Linked DNA regions of Homo sapiens: region 2 is linked to region 1. The links are contacts of gene promoters, found by promoter capture Hi-C in human tissues and cell types (Jung and others, 2019). All regions are on one chromosome and are shown on one strand. The core of a region is centred on a gene start or on the middle of the fragment in contact, and the rest is flanking DNA. Distances in the headings are between cores, read along the strand shown.

What was found. Contacts are between HindIII fragments. The study calls those that stand out against the background at their distance.
Region 2: a fragment that was not itself captured here is called in contact with the fragment with the promoter of ZNF443 in region 1 in 1 of the 25 tissues and cell types used here (adrenal gland).

The regions. Positions count from the first base shown.
Region 1 is chr19:12,438,658-12,444,257 of GRCh38, forward strand. ZNF443 (zinc finger protein 443) reads right to left here and starts at 2,364. Exons shown (of 4, transcript NM_005815.5): 1 at 2,255-2,364. The coding sequence starts at 2,257. RefSeq lists a silencer at 2,043-2,132 and an enhancer at 2,543-2,812. The HindIII fragment of the contact is 16,773 bases long and covers 1-5,600 here.
Region 2 is chr19:12,208,431-12,214,030 of GRCh38, forward strand. It overlaps the pseudogene LOC100289333. Among named protein-coding and RNA genes, the nearest start is that of ZNF136, 48 kb to the left of the region's middle. The HindIII fragment of the contact is 4,844 bases long and covers 366-5,209 here.

The DNA.
Region 1 (5,600 bases), core at 1,114-3,613:
CCTGAAATTCCATCTGAAATCATCCGAAAAACAAACACACCTGAGAAACGTACTACACAAGCTCTGGGGCAAAAAAAATAAATAAAGGCTTTTAAAAAATGGAATAGAAGATTACATATACCATTTATATTCTGAAGTCCAACTCTTTCTAGTATTACTTATAAAATTTATTTTCTGAAGTCCGACTCTTTCCAACTTTGGGTATACTTTGTCTTCAAAGTATAAAATAACAATCTCTAATCATAGGATGTATTTCACGGTTAATCAAAAATTTAGGCTGAAAAGAGTAAACATATCTTTTCAAGCTAACAAACTCAGGAATCAGCAGTGCTGACTGGAACACAGAAAAGTCTAATGCAACAATCAGTGCAGGTCATCCTATCACCTGGGACATCCCTTAACCCTATTCTGTTCGCCACCCTCCTAGGAGACACTCACCACCCTCCTAGGAGACACTGCCTTGTGTGCTTTTCAGGATCTTGCACTACCTCAAAGGGCAGGTTCTCCAGTCCTTAGATATAACTTTCTACCTTTTAAGTCTGAGAGAGTCCAGAAGGCAAAAATCATTTCCGTTTTTTTTCCTATGGAATATGACCATGAAATTGGCTGTTCAGTCATGTGTCTCCAAGGAATGGAAACTAGGGTTGGGAAGAAAAGGTGAGTGTCCCAGGAGTTAGCTTTTTACAGGAATTATATACCAGAAGATTCCTCCCATCCCAGTGGATCCAGTTGCTCCCCAGGGGGCCACACCTTCCATCTCAGGCTGTCCCCTGGGAGGAGTGACCCAGGGGATGATATTCACTAGACCCTCCAAGAGACTTGGCAGCTGTGGACATCCATTTTTTTTGAGACAGGGTCGGCCTCTGTTGCCTAGGCTGGGATGCAGAGGCACGATCATAGCTCACTGCAACTTCAAACTCCTGGGCTCCAGCCATCATCCCACCTCAGCCTCAGGAGTAGCTGCGACTACAGGTGCCAGCTACCAAGCCCAGCTAATTTTATTATTATCATTTACACTAGAGACAAAGTCTTGCCATGTTGCCCAGGCTGGTCTGGAACTACTGGGATCAAGCAATACCTCTGCCTTAGCCTCCCAAGGTGCTGGAATTACAGGAATGACCCACCGTGTTCAGGAACCCAAAACAATTCTTTCAAGAAAAAGCCATACATTGCTAGCTGAAAACAAGATGACAAACTAGTGAAATATCGCCTGGGGCCAAACAGTTCATACTGTTGCTGTGAATTAAGGACAGAAGGTTAGCCTGGGGAAGTCTCTGGAAACCAAGAGATTTGCTGCCAGCCCTAGGAAGAGTCAGGATGAGAGAACACAGTGGTGGATTTGAGACCCTGCTGCCCACGTCTTTGGAAGACTCAGAGGGGAAACGGTCGCCCTTGGAAAGGAAGAAAGGACTGAGGACCACGGAAACCACAGCTCCTCCCACACACAAACCCCACACACGAGTCTGGATTCCACCTGGTGACTCGTCGTCACCGTGCAGCCTCCTCACCGGGTTCACAGGAACTGCGAGCCAGGCTGGAGGCGAGATTGCAGTTAGATATTAAACAGGTGCCCTCAGCCCCGCTGCCTCAAGGGGCCGCCTCCCTGAGAGTCAGGTCACAGCAGACGCTGACCGCCGGCTTCCCCATTGTGCCTGGGGATAAGATCTCCGAGTGCTGCTCAAGAGTCGCCGGAGTTCTCAGATCCTGAATCCCAGCAGAAAGGCTGGCGCCAACCAGGTTGAAGACCCCACGAGGGAGCCCTCTCAGCAGAATGCGGTTTCTTCACCTCCTGTCCCAGGATTCACCCCTCACTTCCCCACCAACCAAGGACGCTACACCCAGCCGCCCCCGTCCAGACCCCAAATCCCTCAGGGAGGCGGATCTGGGGTGTCCTCCCCTCTCCTCCTGTTAAACCGTTTCTGCTGCAGCCCTCGGCGTCTCGGTGCAGTGAGTCGGGCCGCGAACCTGTGTTGGTTACAGCCGCACAATCTGGGGAGACCCGGGGCTGCGGGCTCGGAGCTGCCCAGAGAGGGCGCCGGGGCCGCAGTCGCCGCGCAGGAACGGGACAGGACGCCCGGGGTCCCGGCTGCATGCCCAGCCCCACCCTGCGGCCGAGGGCCGACCTACGCCAGGGGGACCCGGGTCCGTAGATCCCGAAGTCGCCCTTGGGGAGGCCCGGGTCCAGCCACAGCCGATTACGGCCGGTTCCACCTAACCCCTCCCCCGCCTCGGGACGCCGGCCCAGCACACGCACCATTTCCCGACTTCCGCGGTGTCCCAGGTCCTACCGACAGCTCCCGCTGCCAATGCGTGTTCCAGCCAGACAAAGGCTGCCTCAGAACTTCCAGGTCGTCTCTCAGCTACAGAACCCAGAGCCGAGCGCAGGTGGGTGGAGCAGACGCCGCGGGCTTTTTCAACCACACACACTTCTCTGGGCAGTGCCTGATTGACAGTTCCCACGAACCCGCCCCACGCCCCTGATTGGATAGGGCGTCAGGTCCCGCCCCCTGAGGGCTGATTGACAGAAGAAGCGATCTTGCACAGCTGAGTGGAGCCGGATGAGCAAGTTCCTGACACAGCCCTTGGCAGGGGGGGCTTCCTCCCTGCTCTTTGATCTGAATCCTCCCGGGTTATATTTGCACTTAAGCGGAATTTCCTGCCCGTACTCAATAGGACCTCCTGCTTCTTCCTCCTGGACACGGACTGACAAACTAATTATATCTTTTTTTTTTTTTTTCCTCGAGAGGGAGTCTTGCTCTGTCGCCCAGGCTAGAGTGCAATGGTGCGAGGCTCACTGCAACCTTCGCCTCCTGGGTGGGTTCAAGCAATTCTCCTGCCTCAGCCTCCCGAGTAGCTAGGATTACAGGCACGCGCCACCACCCGGCTAATTTTTGTATTTTTCAGTAGAGGCTGGGTTTCACCATGTTGGCCAGGCTGGTCTCAAACTCGTGACCTCGTGATCCGCCTACCTTGGCCTCCCAAAGTTCTGGGATTAGAGGCGTGAGCAACTGCGCCTGGCTCCAATTATGCTCTTTTTCAATGAAATTTTTCAAGATTTTTCAATGTACAATTAAATTATTTTTTACTATAGTCACTCTGTTGTGCTAGCAAATACTAGGTCTTATTCATTCTTTGTAACTATTTTTTATACCTATTAACCATCCCCACTTCCCCCATAACTACTCCTCGCTACTACTTTTCGCAGCCTCTGGTAACCATCCTTCTACACATTTTTGGTTGTTTGAGATGGGGTCTTGCTCTGTTACCTAGGCTGGAGTGCAGTGGGGCCATCATGGCTCACTGCAACCTCTACCTCCTAAGCTCAAGCAATCCTCCCACCTCAGCCTCTCAAGTAGCTTCAGATTGTTCACTGTTGGCATATAAAAATGTTATTGATTTTTGTGTGTTGATATTGTATACTGCAACTTTACTGAATTTATTTCTCAGTTCTAATACTTTTTTGGTGGAGTCTTTAGGTATTTCCAGATATAAGATCATATTATATGCAAACAAGGATAATTTGACTTCTTCCTTCCCAATATGGATGCCCTTTATTTCTTTTTTTTTCTTTTTTTTTTTTTTGTCTTATTGCTCTAGCTGGGACTTCAAGTACTGTGTTGAACAACAGTGGTAAAAGTGGGCATTCTTATTGTGTTCCAGATCTTACAGGAAGGGCTTTCAGTTTTTCCCCATTCATTATCATGCTAGCTGTGGGTCTGCCATATATAGCTTTTATTATGTTAAGGTATGCTCCTTCTTTACCCACTTTTTTTTAGGGTTTTTATCATGAAGGGATGTTAAATATTATCAAAAGCTTTTTCAGTGCACATTGAAATGATTATATGGTGTTTGCCCTTTATTCTGTTGAAATGATACATCACATTGATTGATTTGCATATATTGAACCATCCTTGCATCCCAGGGATAAAGCCCACTTGGTCATGATGAATGATCTTTTTGGTGTATTGTTAAATTCAGTTTGCTAGTATTGAGTTGAGGATTTTTGCATCAATATTCATCAGTGACACTGGCCTATAGTTTTCTTTTTCTGACATGTCTTTGTCTGGTTTTGGTGTCAAAGTAATATTGGCTTTGTAAAATAAATTTGGAAGTATTGCCTTCTCCTCTGTTTTTTGGAATAGTTTGAGTAAGATTGGTATTAGTTCTTTTTTAAATGTTGGTAGAATTCAGCAGTGGAGCCACTGGGTTCTGGGGTTTTCTTTGCTAGGAGACTTTTTATTATGGCTTTGATCTCATTATTTGTTATTGGTCTGTTCAGGTTTTTTATTTCTTCATGGTTCAATGTTGCTATGTTCTATCTGCCTAGGAATTTATCAGTTTCTTCTAGGTTTTCCAGTTTATTGGCATATAGTTGTTCTTAGTTGCATTAATGATCCTTTGAATTTCTGCAGTATCAACTGTAATGTCTCCTTTTTCACCTCTAATTGTATTTATTTGGGCCTGGTTTTTTCTTAGTCTACCTCAAGGTTTGTCAATTTTGTTTGTCTTTTCAAAAAACCAACTTTTTGTTTCATTGTTCTTTTCTATTGTTTCTTCATTTCAAATTCATTTATTTCTACTGATTTTTATTATTTCTTTTCTTCTACTGATTTTGGGTTTGGTTTGCTCTTGCTTTTCTAATTCTTTAAGATGCATTCTTAGGTTGTTTATTTGAAGGTTTTCTTCTTCTTCTTTTTTTTTTTTTGAGATGAGTTTCACTTCACTCTTGCAGCCTAGGCTGGAGTGCAATGGCGCAATCTCAGCTCACTGCCACCTCTGCCTTCTGGGTTCAAGCAGTTCTCCTGCCTCAGCCTCCCAAGTAGCTGGGATTACAGGCACCGACCACCATGTCATTTTTTGTATTTTTAGTAGATACAGGGTTTCACCATGTTGGCCAGGCTGGTCTCGAACTCCTAACCTCAGGTGATCCACTCCCTTTGGCCTCCTAAAGTGCTGGGATTACAGATGGGAGCCACTGCACCCAGCCTGAAGGTCTTCTTCTTTTTTGATGTAGGTGCTTATATCTATAAACTTCCCTCTTAGTACTGCTTTTGCTGTATTCCATAGGTTTTGGTATGTTGCATTTTCATTATCATTTGTTTGAAGAAACTTTTCAATTTTCTTCTTAATTTCTTCATTGACCCACTCGTCATTCAGGAGCGTATTGTTTAATTTCCATATGTTTGTATGGTTTCCAGAATTCCTCTTGTCATTGGTTTCTAGTTTATTCCACTTATTCTGTGACACAATTTATATTATTTCAATTTTTCGGAGCGTTTTAAGACATGTTTTTTGACCTAACATATGGTCTATCCTTGAGAATGATTCCTGTGCTCAGGAAAAGTATGTGTATTCTGTAGCTGTTGGATAAAATGTGCTGTAAATATCTATTAGGTCCATTTGATCTATAGTGTAGATTAAATCCCATTTAATCTTTCTTTTGTCCAATTTTTCAGTATATATTGAAATAATCTTTGTTGATTTACTGTCTGGAAGATCTGTCCAGTTCTGAATATGGGGTGTTAAAATCTCCAGCTATTAGTGTATTGGTGTCTATCTCTCTCTCTCTCTTTTTTTTTTTTTTTTTGAGACAGAGTTTC
Region 2 (5,600 bases), core at 1,538-4,037, 230 kb before region 1:
TGTGGGAAACCCTTCAGTTATCGTCAATCTGTTCTTAGACATGAAAGGACTCACACTGGAGAAAAGCCCTATGAATGTAAAAAATGTGGAAAAACCTTCAGTACTCTTACAGGTTTCCAAATACATGAAAGAACTCACACTAGAGAGAAACCCTATGAATGTAAGGAATGTGGAAAAGCCTTTATTTACCTTGCAAGCTTTCAAAGACACATGATAATGCACAGTGGAGATGGACCTTATAAATGCGAGGAGTGTGGAAAAGCATTCAGTTGTCCTAGTTCATTTCAAGTACCTGAACGAATTCACACTAGAGAAAAACCATATGAATGTAAACAATGTGGTAAAGCCTTCAGTTGGCTTGGTTCCTTTCGAGTACATGAAAGAACTCACACTGGAGAGAAACCCTGTGAATGTAACGAATGTGGGAAAGCCTTCATTTATCGAACTACGTTAAAAGGACACATGAATATTCACACTGGAGAGAAACCTTATAAATGTGAACAATGTGAGAAAGCCTTCCTTTCTCTTGCAAGCTTTCAAATGCACATGATAATGCATACTGGAGATGCACCTTATAAATGTAACGAATGTGGGAAAGCATTCAATTGTCTTAATTCATTTCAAATCCATGAAAGGACTCACACTGGAGAGAAACCGTATGAATGTAAACAATGTGGTAAAGCCTTCAGTTGTTCCAGTTCCTTTAGAATACATGAAAGAAGTCATAGTGGAGAGAAACCCCACGTATGTAAACGATGTGGTAAAGCCTTCATTTGGCACAATTCCTTTTGAATACATGAAAGAACCCACACTGGAGAGAAACCCTATGTATGCAAGCAGTGTGGCAAAGCTTTCATTTATTGTACAACTTTTCAAGGACACATGAGAATGCACACTGGAGAGAAGCCCTATAAAGTGTAAAGAATGTGGAAAAGCCTTCAGTCATCCCAGTTCATTTAGAAGCCATGAAAAAATACACCCTGGCAGAAAACTTCTTGAATGTAAGTAAAGTGGGAGTTTTCAACTTGCCCACCTCCTTACAAAAACATGCAATAAGAATGTGCTAGATATAAAGCTTACAAATGTGAGAAATACAGGAAGTTTTTCAGTTTTAACAAATACTGTCAAAGTCATGTGAAAATTCTCACTAGAAAGAAATCCAATAAAGGCAAGTTGAGGCATACCTGTTTGTTATTCAGGAATTTGCTATAAGGTTATACTGGGGGAGGGGGTGCCATGTTTAAATTCAATGGTATCTTAAGGTAAAACTGTAATTTAAGCCCCAGTATTGATTAAGGACATGGAAATTTGCCAACTGATGCATTTCAACGGATGTTGAAGTTAATTCGGAGCCTGTTTTGTAGAGGTGTGAAACCCAGTCAGCACCCATTTATTTTTTTGCTGTTATTTTAATAAACTTTGGATTTCTAATTTGATCAAATTATGGACCTTTGTCTCAATTTTTTTCTTTTTTCTTTTGGTGATTGCAGGGTGAGGGAGAGGGGTGTTCTGTGTACCCTACTTATATTTATATCCTTCATTCTCTAGAGAGCCTCAAGTCAGTGTCATCATGGTTATGGGCCTCCCTCATGGCAGTGGTTGCTTTAGAGGGTTTCAGGACTGTGGGCTTAAGTCTGATTTAAATTAAGGGTATCTCTCTGAAGTCTCTATTCTATTCCTTTGCTCTGTTTTTTTTTTTTTGTCTTTCTTTCTTGAGACGGAGTCTCGCACTGTCACCCAGGCTGGAGCGCAGTGGCGCGATCTTGGCTCACTGCAACCTCCGCCTCCCAGGTTCAAGCGATTCTCCTTGCCTCAGCCTGAGATTACAGGTGCCCGCCACCACGCCCGGCTAATTTTTTTGCAGTTTTAATAGAGACGGGGTTTCACTATGTTGGCCAGGCTGGTCTTGAACTCCTGACCTAATGATCTGCCCACCTTGGCCTCCCAAAGTGATGGGATTACAGGCGTGAGCCACCACACCCGGCCTCCATTGCTCTATATATCTGCCTTTATGTCATGTCAACACCACACTATTTTGATTACTGAAACTTAGAGTAAGTTTTGAAACTAGGAAGAGTGAGGCTTCCAGCTTTGTTGTTCTCTTTTTCTTTTCTTTTCTTTTTTTTTTTTTTTTTTTTTTGAGACAGAGTTTTGCTCTTGTTACACAGCCTGGACTGCAGTGGTGTGATCTCGGGTCACTGCAACCTCTGCCTCCCAAGTTCAATCTATTCTCCTGCCTTAGCCTCCTGAGTAGCTGGGATTACAGGCATGTGCCACCACACCCAGCTAATTTTGTGTGTGTGCAATGGCTCGATCTCGGCTCACTGCAACCTCCGCCTCCCTGGTTCAAGCGATTTTCCTGCCTCAGCCTCCCGAGTAGCTGGGATTACAAGCATGGGCCACCATGCCCGGCTTATTTTTTTGTATTTTTAGTAGAGATGGGGTTTCTCCTTGTTGGTAAGGCTGGTCTCGAACTCCCGACCTCAGGTGATCTGCCTGCCTCAGCCTCCCAAAGTGCTAGGATTACAGGCATGAGCCTCCGTGCCCAGCCAAAACTTAGAGTAAGTTTTGAAACTAGGAAGAGTGAGGCTTCCAGCTTTGTTGTTGTTTTTCTTTTTTTTTTTGAGACGGAGTTTTGCTCTTGTTGCACAGGCTGGAGTGCAGTGGTGTGATCTCGGGTCACTGCAACCTCCGCCTCCCAGGTTCAATCGATTCTCCTGCCTCAGCCTCCTGAGTAGCTGGGATTACAGGCATATGCCACCACACCCAACTAATTTTTTGTGTTTTTAGTAGAGACGAGGTTTCATCATGTTGGCCAGGCTGGTCTCGAACTCCTGACCTCAGGTGATCCACCCACCTTGGCTTCCCAAAGTCCAGGGATTACAGGCGTGAGTCACCATGTCCAGCCTGTTGTTCTTTTTCAAGATTGTTTTGGCTATTTGGGGTCCTTTGAGATTCCCTGTGAATTTTAGGATGAGTGTTTCTGTTTCCAGAAAAAAATGTCATGGGCCTTTTGATAATGATTGCTTTGAATTTGTAGAGCATTTGCAGTAATATATTGACACCTTAACAAAATTAAGTCTTTTAAATTATGAACACAGAATGTCTTTCCATTTATTTATAGCTTTAATTTCTTTCAGTAACGTTTTATAGTTTTCAGTATACAAGTCTTTTGCTTTTTTGGTTAATTTTTTGTCATGGCGTTTTGCTGCGTTGTCCAGGTTAGTCTCAAACTCCTGGGCTCAAGCTGTTCTCCCATCTTAGGATCTTCAGTAGCTAGGACTGCATGTCTGTGTCACTATAGCTAGCTGTTTTTTTGTTTTTGTTTTTGTTTTGAGACAGGGTCTCATTCTGTCACTGCACTGTAGTGCAGTGGTGAAATCATGGCTCACTGCAGTCTCAACCTCCTGGGCTTAAGTGGTCCTCCCATCTCAGCCTCCCAGTAGCTGGGAGTACAGGCACAGGCCAGCACGTCCAGCCAATTTTTTTTTTTTTTTTTTTTGTAGTATGAGGTCTCACTTTGTTGCTCAGGCTTGTCTTGAACTTCTGGGTTCAAGTGATCCTCCCACCTTGGGCCTTCCAAAGTGCTGATTTTGCAGGTGTGAGCCACTGTGCTTGGCCTGTTTTATTCTTTTTGATGTTATTACTAATGTAATTGTTTTCTTAATTTCCTTTTCAGATTATTAACTGTTAGTGTATTGAAATGTAATTTTAGGCTGGGTGCAGTAGCTCACACCTGTAATTCCAGCACTTTGGGAGGCTGAGGCGGGTGGATCATGAGGTCAGGGGTTTGAGACCAGCCTGACCAACATGGTGAAACCCCGTCTGTACTAAAAAATATAAAAATTATCCGGGCCTGGTGGTGGGCAGCTATAATCCCAGCTACTCAGGAGGCTGAGGCAGGAGAATCGCTTGAACCTGGGAGGTGGAGGTTGCAGTGAGCCAAGATCGCACCATTGCACTCCAGCCTGGGCAACAGAGCGAGACTCCGTCTCAAAAAAAAAATGTAATTTTAAATGTTAATTTTGTACCCTGCAACTTTGCTGAATTCATTTATGAGTTCAGTTTTTGTGTACATATATGTGTATGTAATCTTTAGGATTTTCTACACATAGGATTATGTCATCTGCCAACATAATTTTATTTCTTCCTTGCCCATTTGGATGCCTTTTGTTTTTCTTTTTTTTTTTTTTCTGAGACAGAGTCTCACTGAGCCACCCAGGCTGGAGTGCAGTGGTGCAGTCTTGGCTCACTGCAACCACCGTCTCCCGGGTTCAAGCAATTCTCCCGTCTCAGCCTCCCGAGTACCTGGGATTACAGGCACCCGCCATCATGCCCAGGTAATTTTTGTATTTTAGTAGAGACGGGTTTTCATCATGTTGGACAGGCTGATCTTGAACTCCTGGCCTCAGGTGATCCACCCGCCTCAGCCTCCTAAAGTGCTAGGATTACAGGCGTGAACCACTGCGCCCAACTGGATGCCTTTTCTTTTTCTTACCTAATTACTCTGACTAGCTCTTCCAGTACTATATTGAATGGAAGTGGTGAAAGCAGTTATCCTATCTTGTTTCTGATCTTAGGGGAAAAGATCACCATGTTTATATTTCACCATTAAGTATGATAGTCTTGTAGATTCTTCATATATGGCCTATTACATTGACCTAGTTTCCTCCCATTCCTAGTTTGTTGTTTATCATCAACGGGTCTTGAATTTTGTCAGATGCCTTTTGTGTATCAATTGAGATTACTGTGATTTTTCCGTCATTCGGCTAATGTGGTATATTATATTGACCGATTTTCATAGGATGCACTGTTTGCATTCTGGAGATAAATCTCACTTGATCATGGTTTAGAAGTTTTTAAAAAATACAGATGTAGTCTTGCTCTGTTGCCCAGGCTGGAGTGCAGTGGCATGATCATAACTCACTGTAGTCTCCAAACTCCTGGGCTCAAGCAATCCTCCCACCTCAGCTTCCCAAGTAGCTGGGACTACAGGTGCATGCCACCACACCTGGCTGATTTTTGTATATTTTGTAGACACAGGGTCTTGCTATGTTGCTTTTCATATGCCTGTTTGCCATTTGTATGTCTTCTTTTGAGAAATGTCTATTCAAATCCTTTGCCTATTTTTTGACCAGATTATTAGATTTTCTTCCTATAGAGTTGTTTGGGCTCTGTATATATTGTGGTTATTAACCCCTTGTCAGAGAGGTAGTTTGCAAATAAATATTTTCTCCCACTCGGTGGGTTGTATGTTCACTTTATTGATTGTATCTTTTGCTATGCAGAAACTTTTGTAACTTGATGTGATACCATTTGTCCATTTTTGCTTTGGTTGCCTGTGCTTGTGGGGTATGCCCAATAAATCTTTGCGTAGACCAGTGTCCTGGAGATTTTGCCCAGTGTTTTCTTGTAGTAGTTTTATAGTTTGAGGTCTTATATCTAAGTCTTTAATCCATTTCAATTTTTGTATATGGTGAGAGGTAGGGATCTAGCTTCATTCTTCTGTACATGGATATCCAGTTTTCCCAGCACCATTTGTTGAAGAGACTGCCTTTCCCCAGTGTATGTTCTTGGCACCTTTGTCAAAAATGAGTTCA